Linked DNA regions of Homo sapiens: region 2 is linked to region 1. The links are contacts of gene promoters, found by promoter capture Hi-C in blood cells and fetal thymus (Javierre and others, 2016). All regions are on one chromosome and are shown on one strand. The core of a region is centred on a gene start or on the middle of the fragment in contact, and the rest is flanking DNA. Distances in the headings are between cores, read along the strand shown.

What was found. Contacts are between HindIII fragments. The CHiCAGO score rates a contact against its expected background, and 5 or more counts as called.
Region 2: a fragment that was not itself captured here is called in contact with the fragment with the promoter of ZDHHC22 in region 1 in 1 of 17 cell types (erythroblasts); the score reaches 5.3 in erythroblasts.

What each region holds. Positions count from the first base shown.
Region 1 is chr14:77,137,802-77,144,977 of GRCh38, forward strand. It overlaps ZDHHC22 (zDHHC palmitoyltransferase 22), which reads right to left and starts at 3,990. Exons shown (of 3, transcript NM_174976.2): 1 at 3,802-3,990; 2 at 1,412-1,951. The coding sequence starts at 1,937. RefSeq lists enhancers at 1,694-2,243, 2,381-2,944, 2,945-3,508, 3,603-4,104. The HindIII fragment of the contact is 23,253 bases long and covers 1-7,176 here.
Region 2 is chr14:77,285,642-77,292,817 of GRCh38, forward strand. POMT2 (protein O-mannosyltransferase 2) reads right to left here. Exons shown (of 21, transcript NM_013382.7): 10 at 5,673-5,739; 11 at 3,121-3,190; 12 at 1,103-1,181. Among named protein-coding and RNA genes, the nearest start is that of NGB, 18 kb to the left of the region's middle. The HindIII fragment of the contact is 2,976 bases long and covers 1-2,738 here.

The DNA.
Region 1 (7,176 bases), core at 2,740-5,239:
TATGAATGTTCAGCCCAGGCACCTCAAAACAATCTTGGGCTTTCAGAGGAAGTAGCTGCCCTCTGCCTTTCTTTGCTCCTAGAAGGCCAACAGGTGAGGAAGCATGTTCTATTCCCTGAGCCACTGCAGAAGAGCTGTGGATTAAGGACCTGAGAGGCAGACCAGAGACTGCCACTCAGTAGCAGGAAGACACTGGGCAAGCCACTTAGTCCCGTCTGAGTCTCGGTTTCATCATCTGAGAAATGGAGATAGCAATGCTATACATGCACACTCAAGCACGTAGACACTACTGATTGTGGAAGCTAAGCCATTCAGAGTCAAAGGCCAGGGTAGGGAGGAAGTGGAAGGAAACGCAGTAGGAGCCAGTCTCAAGGCCAAATAAAGTGGTAAGAACTGCCACCAGGAGCTGAGTCCTTCTAGGGCCAGGTATCAGGTAGTGGTCCTTGGTGCATACTAGTTAAAGTGCAGTCCTCAGCCAGGCGCAGTGGCTCACATCTGTAAATCCCAGCACTTTGGGAGGCCAAGGTGGGCGGATCACTTTAGGTCAAGAGTTCAAGGCCCGCCTGGCCAACACAGTAAAACACCATCTCTACTAAAAATACAAAAATTAGTGTGGCGTGGTGGCACGCACCTGTAATCCCAGCTACTCGGGAGGTTGAGGCAAGAGAATCACTTGAACCTGGGAGGTAGAGGTTACAGTAAGCAGAGATTGCTTTCACCACTGCGCTTCAGCCTGTGTGATGGAGTGAGACTCTGTCTTAAAAAAAAAAAACAAAAAACCTGCCTCTCCCACCCACGTTCCCTCTGCTCTGAGCCATCAGCAGGCTGGAGAACAGGCTGGTGAGGTCAAACATAATAGGCAGGAGGACAGAGCTTAGCCTCCTGCTGGGCTGGGCTGGCAACAAGTTCAATATTACTGCAATTGGTTGGTGAGACCTCTGGAGAGCAGAGTCCTTGGGTGACATGTAAGCAGAACTGGGGACCAGGCAGAGGAATGTCATAGCATGGTTGTACCTCATGGGGCTACATGGAGGAATGGCCAGCACCTAGTCCTGCCTGGCACAGAGCAGGTGTATTACCTGGATGCCACAACTCTGTGAGCATATGGACAGCATGATGGATGAGAATGATGGGGGCAAGGGGGGATGTTACCAATAAAATACAGCATGTCCGCTTAATTTGCATTTCAGATAGCCAATAGCAAATTTTCTCAGTGTATCTCATACAATATCTGGGACATAATTATACTAAAAAATTATGAGTTGTTTATCTGAAATTTTAATTTAGCGGGACGGTCTGTATTTTTATTTGCTAAATCTGGCAACTTTTGGGGTTGGGGTTTGGGGCCCGGCAACCTTTGGGGTGGGAGGTCTTTGTGTAGAGCCCAACCTGCCCGCCAAGGCCCACTCACCGGAGAAGAACTGGCTGATGGAGGTGGGCAGGAGCGTGAGGAAGGCCAAGGGGTGGGCGAAGGAGATGGAAAGGACAGCGGAGATGTAGGCCACGCCGGCCACCATGGAGTAGAGGCAGGCCAGGGAGGTGTAGAGGCAGAACAGGACGAAGTTGCGCATGTTCCTGCTGCCGATGCAGTTGCCGGTGAAGAAACAGTGATGGTCGTGCCTCAGGGTGACTCTGGCGCACACTCGGCAGAAGTGGGTGCTAGGTGAGGGGCATGGAGTCTTCCTGGCCGAGGCCCCCTGGCAGGCCCCCAGGTCGTCTGGGGAGTTCTGGATGACAAGGACGTAATTGCCCAGGGCGTTGGCCGAGAGGAATAGGAAGAGCGCCCCGTGGAGCAGGGCGGGCGAGAAGAGCCGGGCGGCCGCGGGGTCCTCGCGCATGCTGGGCAGGAAGAGGAAGAGCTGCAGCACGAAGGTCACCAGGGAGATGCACAAGAAGTAGGCGGGGGCCACCACGTTGAGCAGCCGCAGGGCCAGCATCCTCGATTACATTCCTGCGGGGCCCGGGGTGAGAAGAGGACTGACTGACTACGGCGTCCAGGGGGCGCCCTCGCCCGCTCCTCCGTGCCGCGCGTCTGGGGCACTGCACGCGACTCCACGCCCCCAACCCCCTGTCCCGCGGATTTCCCCTCCCCAGTTCCCTAACCCCGGATCAGGCAGGCCAGAGACCCGAGCCCGCAGCGGCCTCGGGTCTAGGCCCCACCTGGGGGTGAGTGTTGCCTGGGGTTTTGAGCGAGCTCGGCGCCTTGGCGCGGCAGAGTCTGGCACAGGAGGGAGGGACTCGTTTGCAGTCTTTAGGAGTTGTGAGGGTGGGGGGCACCGGGGGATAGGACTCCTCCCCTCTGTGGATGTGGAAACAAGCCCAGGTTTGGGATTTCTGGTTCAGACCTCCCTAGGAGGAGAAAGGGAAGGATTTGGGGTCGGGGGCAGGAGAATCAGCGGCACTTGACCTGCTGGAAATCCTGCTTCACACTCCCCTTTCTCCGTCCCTGCGTCCCCACCCACACACACATCTTGGGCAGCACTCAGGGACCTCACCAGGTTACCCAAGGCTCTTTGGAGGTATGTGTGCGTGAGGGACCACGATGTGTGTGTGTGTGTCCTTGTCTGTGACTCTGTACGTGTAATCTGTGTGCGCTTGAGTATCTGTATTTGTGTATGTATATATCTGCGTGTACAGACACGCAGCCTCTGCTATCTAGCTTTAAAAAAATCAATTGAAACAATCGATACACTCACACTCGCTCTCGGGCACCGGGTGAGGTGGGGGCGCAACCAGAATACCTGTGTCAGCGGGTCCTGGCCAGCACATCTCTCCAACGCTGGCTGCCCGGGCTATTTCTTTGCGAAGAGCGTTTTCATTTGAGGCGAAATTAAAATCCCCCCTTCGCGCCCGCCTCCCGCCCTCCTGCTGAGAGAAACCCAAACAACCCTCATGGCGCCGAAATCCTTTCCATGCCGACAAGCCCGCCCTGGGCGCACGAGTGGATGCTTGGCCAGCCTTTCCTGGGATCGACCCCGCCGCCGTGCTCAGCCCTCACCACGTCCCCATCCCACCCCACGCCTCACAGCCGGGGTTCCTGGCCAGCTTCGGAAGCCACCGAGAAATAGGATTCCGTGCGCCCGAGAGAACTTTTCCAGGGGCTAAGGAATCGGCCAGCCGGAGGCGCGAGAAAAGTTCTGGGAAGGCGGTTGCACCTAGGATGGGTGGATGCCACGGGGCCTCCGTCCAGGCTGTCCCGTCCGCACGGGTCGACTGGTCACCTTGGAATCCCCTTTGCAGGTCCCAGCGCCCCCCGGGAACCCGCAGCCTCCGCGGAGAGCGTGGGCCTCTCCCTACCGCTGGGGCGCAGCGCAGTGCACGCCTGAGGGTGGTCGCCGGGGGCTGGGCACGCCCCCAGTCCTGCGCCGCCGGGGGCTGCGGCGGTGCTGCCCACCCCAGAGAGCCCTCGGCCTGGGGCTCCGGCGAAGCAAGTGCCTTCCCGGCGCCGGTCGCCAGGGGGGCGCGGGAGCAGCCAGATGCGCCGCAGCGCTGGGAAGGCGGCGAAGGACAGGGGCTAGGGGAGTGAGGGGCGCTCGGCAGGCAGCCTCAGCCCTGGCCCTGCGCGGGAGAAGGGACAGCAGAGACCGCCCGTGGGGCCCCGGGGTGTAGGGAGCTGTCCGTTCAGCCCTGGCGCCCGCCTCGCCCGCGGCAGAGGGCGGCACAGCCGGAGCCTTGGAAAGACCGGCAGCGCCGGCAGCCGCGGGCTTCTCGGCCACTGCCTCCCGGACGCACGGGAAGCCGCCCCCCGCGCCGCCGCCGCCGCACTGCCGCCGTCGCAGAGGGGTGAGGAAATCAACTCACCGAGCTCTGGTCGCCGACAAGAGGAGCCCCGGACGCCGGCTCTCGCCCTGCCCGAGGCTGCAAAGTTGTGGACTCGGCCCGGCTGGCTCGCAGCCTGCGCTTCGCTTCGGGAACTGGGCAAGTAGCGGGGATGTGGGGAGGAGGGAGCGGGCAGCTGCTGGCTTCCCACTTGGGCGCCAGCGAGTAAGGGCCAGGAAGCGGCGGGGATGGCAGCTGGGCACCCCCCAGCCCCGCCACCCCTCCCTCCGCTCCTGGGGGCGGTGCTCTGGCCGCCAGTCTCAGCATCGTGGACTTGCCCCCTCCTCCCCTCTCGATTCCCCTTGAGCGGGCTGGGGCGCCCTGCCTGGTTTCAGCGCCCGTTCCAGCTGGGAGATTGGGATTCAGCCCTGATGTGGATTCTCCAGCCATCATCCTGCCCTTCCCTCTCGGCTAGGTCCCACGACCTTCCCTGCTCTCCACTCGGACTGAAGGAACCCTGGGGGCTTGAGAGGTCAGCTTGCCAGGGCAACACCCATGAAGATCAGCGTCATCTCCTCGGAAGGGCTGTGTACAGAGGGTTGGGAGTTGGGACTCTGGAGCCTGTCTACCTGGGTTTGAATATTCACCATTCACTACTGTGAGATCTCAGATTCCAGTTTCTTCGTCTGTAAATTCCAGTGTGATCTTAGATTCCAGTTTCCTCATCTGTGAAATAGAGATATGAGGGTTAAATGACAATCTATGTAAAACCCTTAAACAGGGCCTGCCCAGGGCAAGCACTGCTTGATTAGATCATAATTAGACACTACTTATCGGGCCCCTACTAGGTAGCAGGCATTGTGCTAAGCCTTTAGCATAAGATGCTTCCTTAATCCTCTCAGCCTGATCTGTGAAGCTGGCTGAGCCCCATTCTGGAGATGAGGAGGTTGAAGCTCAGAGAAGCTAAGTCTCATGTCTAAGGTCATACAGCCATTAAGTGACAGAGCCTGGACTTGAACCTGGTTCTAGCATTAATGCTCCTGCACTCAGCCTCTACACAGCCCAGCATCACCCTGGGACCCACGGGCAGCTCTGATTTGAGAGAAGGAAAGACAATGGGAGTTTATCCAGACACAGAGCTTGAACTTGGAGCTTCTTCTTTGAGCCTCACCCCCACCTTCTTATTTCTATTTCCTTCCCCTTCCAGGGCTCCGCTATTCTAAGGTGGGTACTGTGATGCGCCAAGAGGGTAGTGACACCAATGTGTATCAAACAGTGGGGGGTGGGGGGAGCAGAGCCTTAAAAACATCAAACACTGCAGGAATATTGGTGCCATCACCATCCTCAATTTCCTGGGTGTCGCAGCTCACCTACCTGCCCTGTTCCTCTCCTCTCGGTGATGGCATACTTAATAAATAAACATTTATTGCTTTCTCAACTGGCTGATTAAAACAAGAGCAATCCCTTGAAATGAGGGCCATATGCTGATCAGCTCAGCCTCTATTCTTGAATAACCACACACTGTTTCCTCTGTAATTTATCAGCATACATCAAAATAAAAAAGAGGCCAGGAAACCTTTTCACATTCTAAAAGGATCTGACATGTAAGTGAAAGAACAGTATATGCCACATGGTGGCCGTGAGCAGCTGGTAGCCTTGTGAGTTCCAGTGGCCACAGGACAGACATGGGGAGGCACACATGGCCCTTTTCCCTTCAGAGCAGCTTTGTCTCATAATCGTGGCCGTCTGGGCCCCTTTTCACAAGCTCTGTCTGCCTCTCACATGGGCTTGGCAGGGAGGGAGGCTGGCTGGGGTGCTTGGGTTTGGGTATACTGACTGAAGATCTCCATTCCCCAAATACCTTGTGAGTCGGGTGGTATTTCTAATTTTATTTTGCATATGGGTGTGAGGTGGGAAGGTGTGTGTCTGAATCTGTGTGTATGAGGAAAGGGAAAGAGAGAAAGAAGCTAAGCGAACGTGGGAAGATGTTAGTGGGGGAAGGGAGTATTCAGTCAGGAAAAGGAGATCTGGTCGTGGAAACACAAATGGACAAGGACGATTATTTATTTAGAAATATCGTTTATCAACAGAAAAGGACATTACAGCTTCAGATCTAAAGCTAGTGGTTCCTCAGCTCCCCTTAAGGAATGGAGTGAAGGGAAGCACGGCAAATGTCATTTTGTTTTTCTAAAACTTATGCTTATCCCTGACAAAATCAATAGGGAGGCAAAATCAATATGAAAACTTCACTTGGATTCTGGCCCTATGAGAGTCAAGCAGACTAAGAATGAGCATTTTATTGCCATTTACCAGCTGTGTGACCATGAGCTGCTAGTCATTTAACCTCTCTGCTCTCAGTATTCTCATCGGTAAAATGGGAATAAGAATGCTGCTGTTATTTGTGGTGATGATGATCAAATGGGATCATGTAATTTAAGCACCTTAGCGTCTCCCACATCTTTAGGGCTCCTCTTTTCAACCACAGGACTCTCTTCACTTTCCAACTAAAATGAGAGCTCCTTGCCTATGTTGGAAATGTTTTGGGGTTTCTTCCATATTTCCTAATAGGATGATTTGCCCAGAGTTGACACTGAGTAAAAGTCTCTTGATCGATGAATTGCTACTGGTCTGTCTGTGAAAGGAAGAGCTATATTCTGAGGTCTTTGAAATGTCTGGTGAGGGCCAGATGCATTGGCTCACACCTGTAATCCCAGCACTTTGGGAGGCTGAGGCAGGCAGATCACCTGAGGTCAGGAGTCCGAAACCATCCTGGCCAACATGGGGAAACCCCGTCCCTACTAAAAATATAAAAATTAGCCAGGCGTGGTGGCCAGTGCCTGTAATCCCAGCTACTCAAGAGGCTGAGACAGGAGAATCGCTTGAACCCAGGAGGCAGAGGTTGCTGTGACCCAAGACCATGCCATTGCACTCCAGCCTGGGTGACAGATCAAGACTCTGTCTCAAAGAGAAATATCTGCTGAGGACACATTTGCCATTGATCTTGCAACCTGCCACCACCCACCCTGACTCTAATCTCATCCTCCATAAACAGTGACAGAAATGATTTATAAACCACACTCTCCATTGCTCTTGCTGTAGATTCCTATAGTTAAGCCATAACTGTACCTGCAGGCAGTCCCATGGGGACAGGGGCACAGATAAGCATCTCATTGCTGTCCAGCCCTTTCCTGGAGATATGCGCCCTCAATCTTGCTATTTGGTGGTGTTATTTGAATAAAATGAATTCCCTTTCAAGTGGAAATTATTCCACTTTGCTTCAGAGTGTTGTATTACAAGGAGAGAAATCCATGTAGCAAGCAGCTTCTGCCTTGAGTGAGTAACCCCGCCTCCATGTCTGTCAGGCCTATAATGCCCCAAATGTTTTGGATGGAGACTATTCCAAGATGCAAGGAGCTG
Region 2 (7,176 bases), core at 1-2,500, 150 kb after region 1:
AAGCCAAGAAAAAAATACAAAGAAAGTGAGGGGACTTTAGAGAAAACGTGTCAGAAAGGGAAATGGCCACCCAGATGCCACCATGTTATGAAGGTCAAAGACCAAATTAGGCTCAATGATAGAGATGGGCAAGGTTACAAGAAGGCCAAAGAAATATCCCAGGTGATTGGCATTGTCCCAAAACTCACTATTACAACCAAAAAACAGTAGTATGACTCCTGGAACCAGAAGTCCAGGAGTCCAACTCTTCACTTCATAGAACTAGAGTTCAAGTTCTAAATACCTGTCTTTGCCCTTCAACCAAACTCAAGACATCACTCTGAGCCAACAGAAACAGATCTGGGCCATTTGCATCCATTACCTTGGCTATCTAGGTATTCACTCATCTAAGCCAGAAAGGTCTGGCCTGGCTATTGCACTTTGGAAATTAAGACATGTATGTCTAATTCTTCTCAGAAGATGCCCACAAAGAAGATTAGAATGTTCACAGTCTTGACCTAGCACAATGTGGAATGAGCAAACAGAAAGAGGGCTGGGAAATCCACCTGAAGGCCAGAATCTGTATACAGTTTTCCACTAGTAGTTTTTGTCTTCAGTTACTCCCAAAGCCATAAGTACTCATAGAGCTTTTATTTATTAGCTGCATCTCCTTGAGGTAGTAAAATACAAAAGCTATGGATAATATCCCTCTGCAGAACAGGGAAATGATACTTAAAAATAAAGCTAATGAGAATTTGGGATCTGGCAAAAGATAAACATACATGTTGTTCATCTGGGGTCATATTGTGGGTCCTTGGCTTCTATGTCCAATGTGATTTTAAAAGAGATCCAAATAGTATTCATATTTGACATTTATTAAGTATCAGAGCATGTAAATGGCATGGTTATTATGTGAGGAGAGAGATGGAGACAAACAGACTTCATAGGCTGCTTTTCCCAGAGCAGGCCTAGCCAAAAAGTGCCCAAATGTTAAGAGAGTCCCTGTGCAGCCTCTTATCCTCAGGAACATTCCAGAATTCTGGGGAGGAGATATCCCACCACACAGCCCTGAGCCAAGGCCCATAACTTTTACGTCCTACTCACATCCCCGTTGCTTACTTACTATGCCATAGCCGGTGACCTGATAGTGCTTCCGGGTCATGGGGGCCTCATGATAGTGACTGTGCAAGTTCCGGGAAGTTCTAGAAGTTAGAAAAGAGAAGTGTCATTATCCTATAGAAAGATGATGTGCAACATTTCTTCTTTTACCAAGGATGTTCAGAGTCAACTGTCAGGATAAGAAAAATTAGAATCTGAACTATTAAATCCAACATATCAGGAACTGGTTTCCTATTTACTCACAAGAAATATCCTGAGAACTGGAGAAGAGATGAGCCCAAACCAGGAGAGACAGATGGTAGGAGCACTGGACGGCATGCCAAGAAAGGGGCTAACTTTAGGTGCTGGCAGGGAGGTGGGGGGCGACTTTCACACATTTAGTAGCTTTGAAGCACTTAGCTTGCCTGACTTAGGAGGCAGGTTTGAGGAGAGGAAAAATTAAAACTTGTAATCTGCATGGCCTGAGCTAGGTAACCTCCTCACTGCCACTTACTCTTTCTGCTCCCATCGCCAGATTTTTTTAAGTGGACATCTGTGGAGGATGAGAGGGGTTTAATTTAGCTTTTATTTAGTTTTATATAACAACTCTCACTTTTATCTGGAACAAATAATAAATGTTCATTATAAAATTTCTGAAAATTTGCAAAAGTAAAATTTAATTACAATAAATTTTTATTAATGACAAATGAAATTTATTTAATAAAATAAAAATTTTAAGTATTCAAAATCCAGCTGACTCAAAAAAAAACCATAGCTAATTGCTTCTCTCTCTGTCTCTGTCTCTCTCTCTCTCTCTCTCTCTCTCTATATATATATATATATACCCACACACATACACACCTCTGATTTTTAAAAATTTGTATCCGATAATTCCAGTCTATGAAATGTTTACGGGGCTGCTCCTGCTGTCTGTCGTTTCAGCTTGTTCTTGCACACAGTGCCCTATTTCCTTGTGTGCTTTGTTACTTTTGGGTGTGTACTATTGTCACTAAAAAACTATGGGAACAAATGACAACGACTTTCCCCAAAGAGGGCTTACATTTGCTTTTAGCCATGCACCTAGGAGACACGACCAATCTAGGATCATGTTCATTTAAATTCATGTCTTGGAGATTCTGAGATCACCCAGGCAACATGAATTTGAGCTCCAAGTTCATGTGAGGATCAAATGGTAGTTCCAACTTCTCAGGAACTAAGGACAGTTCACCACCCAACCCCCAACACTTAGCTGGGTCCTAAAGTGGACCTGGGCATAAGTGGATAGGGCAGATTTACCCTTACCCCAAGCCTTTGGGGGTTCCAAATATGGGGAAGGATAACTTAATAAATTTACCACTTTGGGTGAGCCTAGGTTTGACTTTAAAACCTCTTCTCTCAAGAGACAGCCAAAAGTCAAGATTGTGGGATCAAAGCAAAAGTGGCTTCAGTGTCTCACTTATTTCTCTGGATTCCTCATTTCACTTAGGCTTTGGCCTGGTAACTCTTTAATATCTTGTCAGCCTTTTTATGCTCTTAAGAAGTCTTTATATTATTCCAGCATTTTTAGTCATTTTCAGTGAGAACACTGGTTAAATAAGCTAGCTTGCCATATTCTCAGAAACAGACTCCTACGTCTTTCTAAAGGCAGCCACTTAAGAAGAAGCTTTGGGAGCTGGGTGTGATGGCTCATGCCTGTAATAGCAACCATTTGGGAGGCTGAAGCGGGAGGATCGCTTGAGCCCAGGACTCTGAGGCCAGCCTGGGTAACATAGTGAGACTCTGTCTCAAAAAAAAACAGCAGCAGCAGCTTTCAGCAACTCAAATTTTCCTCTAGGAAATGGGAAATTGAAAGGTCCCCAGAAGGCAGGCAAAGGCTGGCCTGCAATTTCATCACCTTCATAAAATGCTTCTCCCATTCTCGCACTGTGGCCTTGCTCCATTGACCAGAGCCTCATCAAAATCTAACTTCTGTTTACTTCTTAAAATAACTCCCTCCCCTTGGTGCCCGTACCATTTATTTATCCAAACTGCAAATTGACTTACTCTTTGTGTTCTAGTCGAATAATGTCTCCATGTCTTACAAACTCCACTGGGAAGGAAGGGTCTAGGGGATCTGCCAAAAAGAAACAAGCATTGATATCCAAAATCACTCACCAGGCTAGTATTAATCAAGGGCCTACTGGTAAACAGTTATAGTACCATGTGGTATCTGCTAGAGGTACTAACCAGGTACTCTGAGACCAAAGAGGAAAGACCCCTAAATTGCTTCAGGGTATTAGAGAAGGGTGTCCCAGAGATAATGCTCGAAAAGACTCTTAAGGGAAAGGGAGAATTTTGTCAGGTGAACAAGCAGGAGAAAGGCACTAGAAGTGTGAAAGAAGAAAACTTCTGGCCGGGCACAGTGGCTCACGCCTGTAATCCTAGCCCTTTGGGAGACCGAGGCGGGCAGAACACCTGAGGCCAGGAATTCGAGACAAGCCTGGCCAACATGGTGAAACCCCATCTCTACTAAAAATACAAATAATAGCCGGGCGTGGTGGTGCACGCCTGTAGTCCCAGCTACTCGAGAGGCTGAGGCAGGAGAATCGCTTGAACCCGGGAGGCGGAGGTTGCAGTAAGCCGAGATTGCGCCACTGCATTCCAGCCTGGGTGACAGAGCAAGACTCTGTCTCCAAAAAAAAAGAAGAAGAAAAACTCCTTCGATGAATAGCAAATGGGTTTCATACTGTAAGGGTGGGTGGGGTGGGGGAGAGTGGGAACAGATGAGGCTATGAACGAGTGTGGCCAGACTGCATATTCCAGGCTGGAATGTGGCCTTTACCCGATGAGGCACTGAAGCCCCCACTGGAGCTTAAGCTGGGAAGCTAAATAGTAAGACTTTAGTAGTAATAACAGCCTTCTAAAAAGTAATTCCATACAAATGACCACTTGCCCAACTCTCCTCAAAATCAAATAAACCCTGACAATCTTGCCAGCGAGTATCTTGTCTCTGGCAATAAACTTGCTAAATGTGAGGTGAATAATGATGAAATGATTAAAGGACTACTTCTGTATCATCTCAAAATCAAGACCAATCAGGATCTAGAAAGGTGATGACATGGAAAAGGAGCTGGCAGTAATCATAGCAACACAGAATGGATCCTTGCAAATTTCTGTCCCAAACAGTGAGATACCAACACACTATAAATTGATCAAGGTCAGGAAAGATAAATTTGCCAGTGCAAATCACTGGCTCTCAAGAGAATCAGAGAACTCAACCGCAGAGACACCCATTTCCATGCTGCCTGTTAGGGTCTCTTAAAAGCATTAATTAGCAAGATGACAAATCAACTAAGTCAATAGGGAGGGAGGTTTTATTTCATATGCATTTGGTGGGGAGGGGCATTTATAGCCTTCAAGAACACAAAGACCCTAGTCTATAAAGCTCCCACAAAATCCTTAATCACTTCGATGAAATGCAACCATCTTAACTCAGAAGTCACAATGGAATAACAGACTAGGAATGTTCAAAGACTTGGTTCATGACCACATGACGGAAGTAAAACTGGTCTTCCCTCGTAACTCCTCACTGTGATAGAACACTCACGTTTGGCCTGCTGAATCAATCAATATCCATTATAAAAGTATAGAAACAGACTCTGCCCAATGGTGTCGTAATTTATCCCACTAAGGAGCAGGATGTAGAAAGTGGTTGTATACGCCACGTTTCTAGCCTACACAGCAATAAGAGGAGGTGGATTTAGGTGAGCAGCTGCCCATTTCTCTACAAAGGCCTAGGAGCAGCTGAGCTGGGATAGGCTAAGCCAGGTGGGATTTGCTGAGGAGTCACAGAGATACCTGTGGCACAGGACTGTCAGCAGAGATGACAGGCTCGGAAGGTGAGTGGAAGATGCCCTCTGTTCTCTTAGCTGCAGCAGAGGCACAGCCTGCAGGTAGCTAGCTGTCTGACCAAAGAAAGGAAGATCTGGCTCTAGCTCTTGCTCTGTCATAAAGCCCTGAGAGCCTGATAGGTGTGCTTCAGAGCGCCTTCACCCAGGCCAGTTAGAAGCAGATCAGCAGGCATCGAGTCACATCTCAGGAATTAGCCTAGACAAATTCCAGTCACAGGACTAGTAGCCCCTCAGATCAACTGACTGACTCAGGCCAGGGCTGAGCAGTGGGCAGGATTCTATCTTATCAAGACGACTTAAGCTGCACCACATGCTAGAGTGTGCAATGTTTGGTGTGCTCTATGTAAGAAATGAGAGCAGCAGCCAGGTGCCCTCAGCTGGGGCCACTCACCAGCCCCTAGTGGCATGCTCAAGTAACCTCTACTTAGATTAAATCTGGGCTCCGCTATCTGTCTTCAAAATGACAGCTCTAAGAGCAAGTTCTTACCTGTTTTGCTCAATGCTTATCCCCTATGCCAACAACAGTGCTTGGAACACAGTAGGTGCTTAATAAATAATAATTGAAAGGATAATTGAGATAAGTAAAGGTGTCAAAGATGCTCAGCAAAGCCCATCTCAGGATCATTCTTTTGCAGGCATGAGAAATCTTAAGGAGGGCTCAGAGGGAGTAACAGCACAAGAAGCATCAGTCTCTGACCACATTACCTGAGTTTGTGTTATGTTTCTTGATAATCCACAGGTTGTTGTAGTCCTTGTGCAAATAGGTGGTGACCTGGGTGGGGGGTGGGGGCGGAGGGAAGAGGAAGCAGGAGGGAGAATACCATCACTATCAGCACAGCTGGCCAAGGACAATCAACCTCAAACCAATGTTGCTTAAGCCAATTTCAGAATCCCCAGCCACCAACCTGAGGGGCCATGTTTCCCAATGGGGCTCATATGTAGCACTGGTGAGTGAGATTCTCTCCTTCCTTCTGCATTTAGAAGCTTTGTCCCACAAGAGCCTTTTTGTTTCTTTGTATCTTTCTGCATCTTGTCCTAAAAGTTCCATCCAGCCTTCTAGAGGGAGGAACCATGAGGCCTTATATAACTGACTCCAACACAAAAACAGAATGAGGATTTAAGTGCATTTTCAAAGTAATTAAGGCCGGGTGTGGTGGCTCATGCCTGTAATCCCAGCACTTTGGGAAGCCAGAGTGGGCGGATCACCTGAGGTCAGGAGTTTGAGATCAGCCTGGCCAACACGGTGAAACCCCGTCTTTACTAAAAATACAAAAATTAGCCGGGCATGGTACGCGCCTGTAATCCCAACTACTCAGGAGGCTAAGGCAGGAGAATCGCTTGAACCTAGGAGGCAGAGGTTGCAGTGAGCTGAGATCGCGCCACTGCACTACAGCCTGGGCAACAGAGCAAGACTCTATCTTGGGAAAAAAAAAAGTAATTAAGATCATGCCTCAAACTTTCTAAATGAAAAATTCATGCTATTATATTTTCTATAATGTGGCCAAATGAAACGAAAAAGCTCCACAGATATCCTGTCCTAGAATTTAACTCACGTTTTATACAAAAAATCTGGAAACAGTATGACTGTCTAGTAATAGAAAAATAGTTAACATGATAGTATGTCCTGGGATAGAATATTATACAGCCATAAAAAATGTTTCAGAGCATTTTTTTAGCAACATGGGAAAAGGCTCATGAAATGCTGATGCTGAAAATGGCTACCATTTATTACCAGGCACTGTTCTAAGCATTGGGCAAGTCTTATCTCATTTAACCATTATTACAGCTCTATGCCATAGGTACTATGGTTATCCCCACATTACTTACAAGGAAACTGAAGTTAAGTAATTTGCTCAAGGTCACACAGCTTATGCGTTGGGGAGACAGAATTCAAACCAGGGCCGCAAAATAAATGCTCCCAGGATAGAGACTATATACGTCCAATTATGCCAATTATGTAGACAAGTAGAGAACTCTCACAAATGAGTTTTTATAACCCCAATTGGATAAAATATGACCAATTTATAGTCATATGCCACATAAAGACATTTTGGTCAACAACAAACTGCATATATAATGGTTGCCCCATAAGATTATAATACCATATTTTTACTATACCATTTCCATGTTTAGATATGTTTAAGTTAATACAAATACTTACCATTGTGTTCCACTGTGTTCCAACTGCCTGCAGTATTCAGTACAGTAA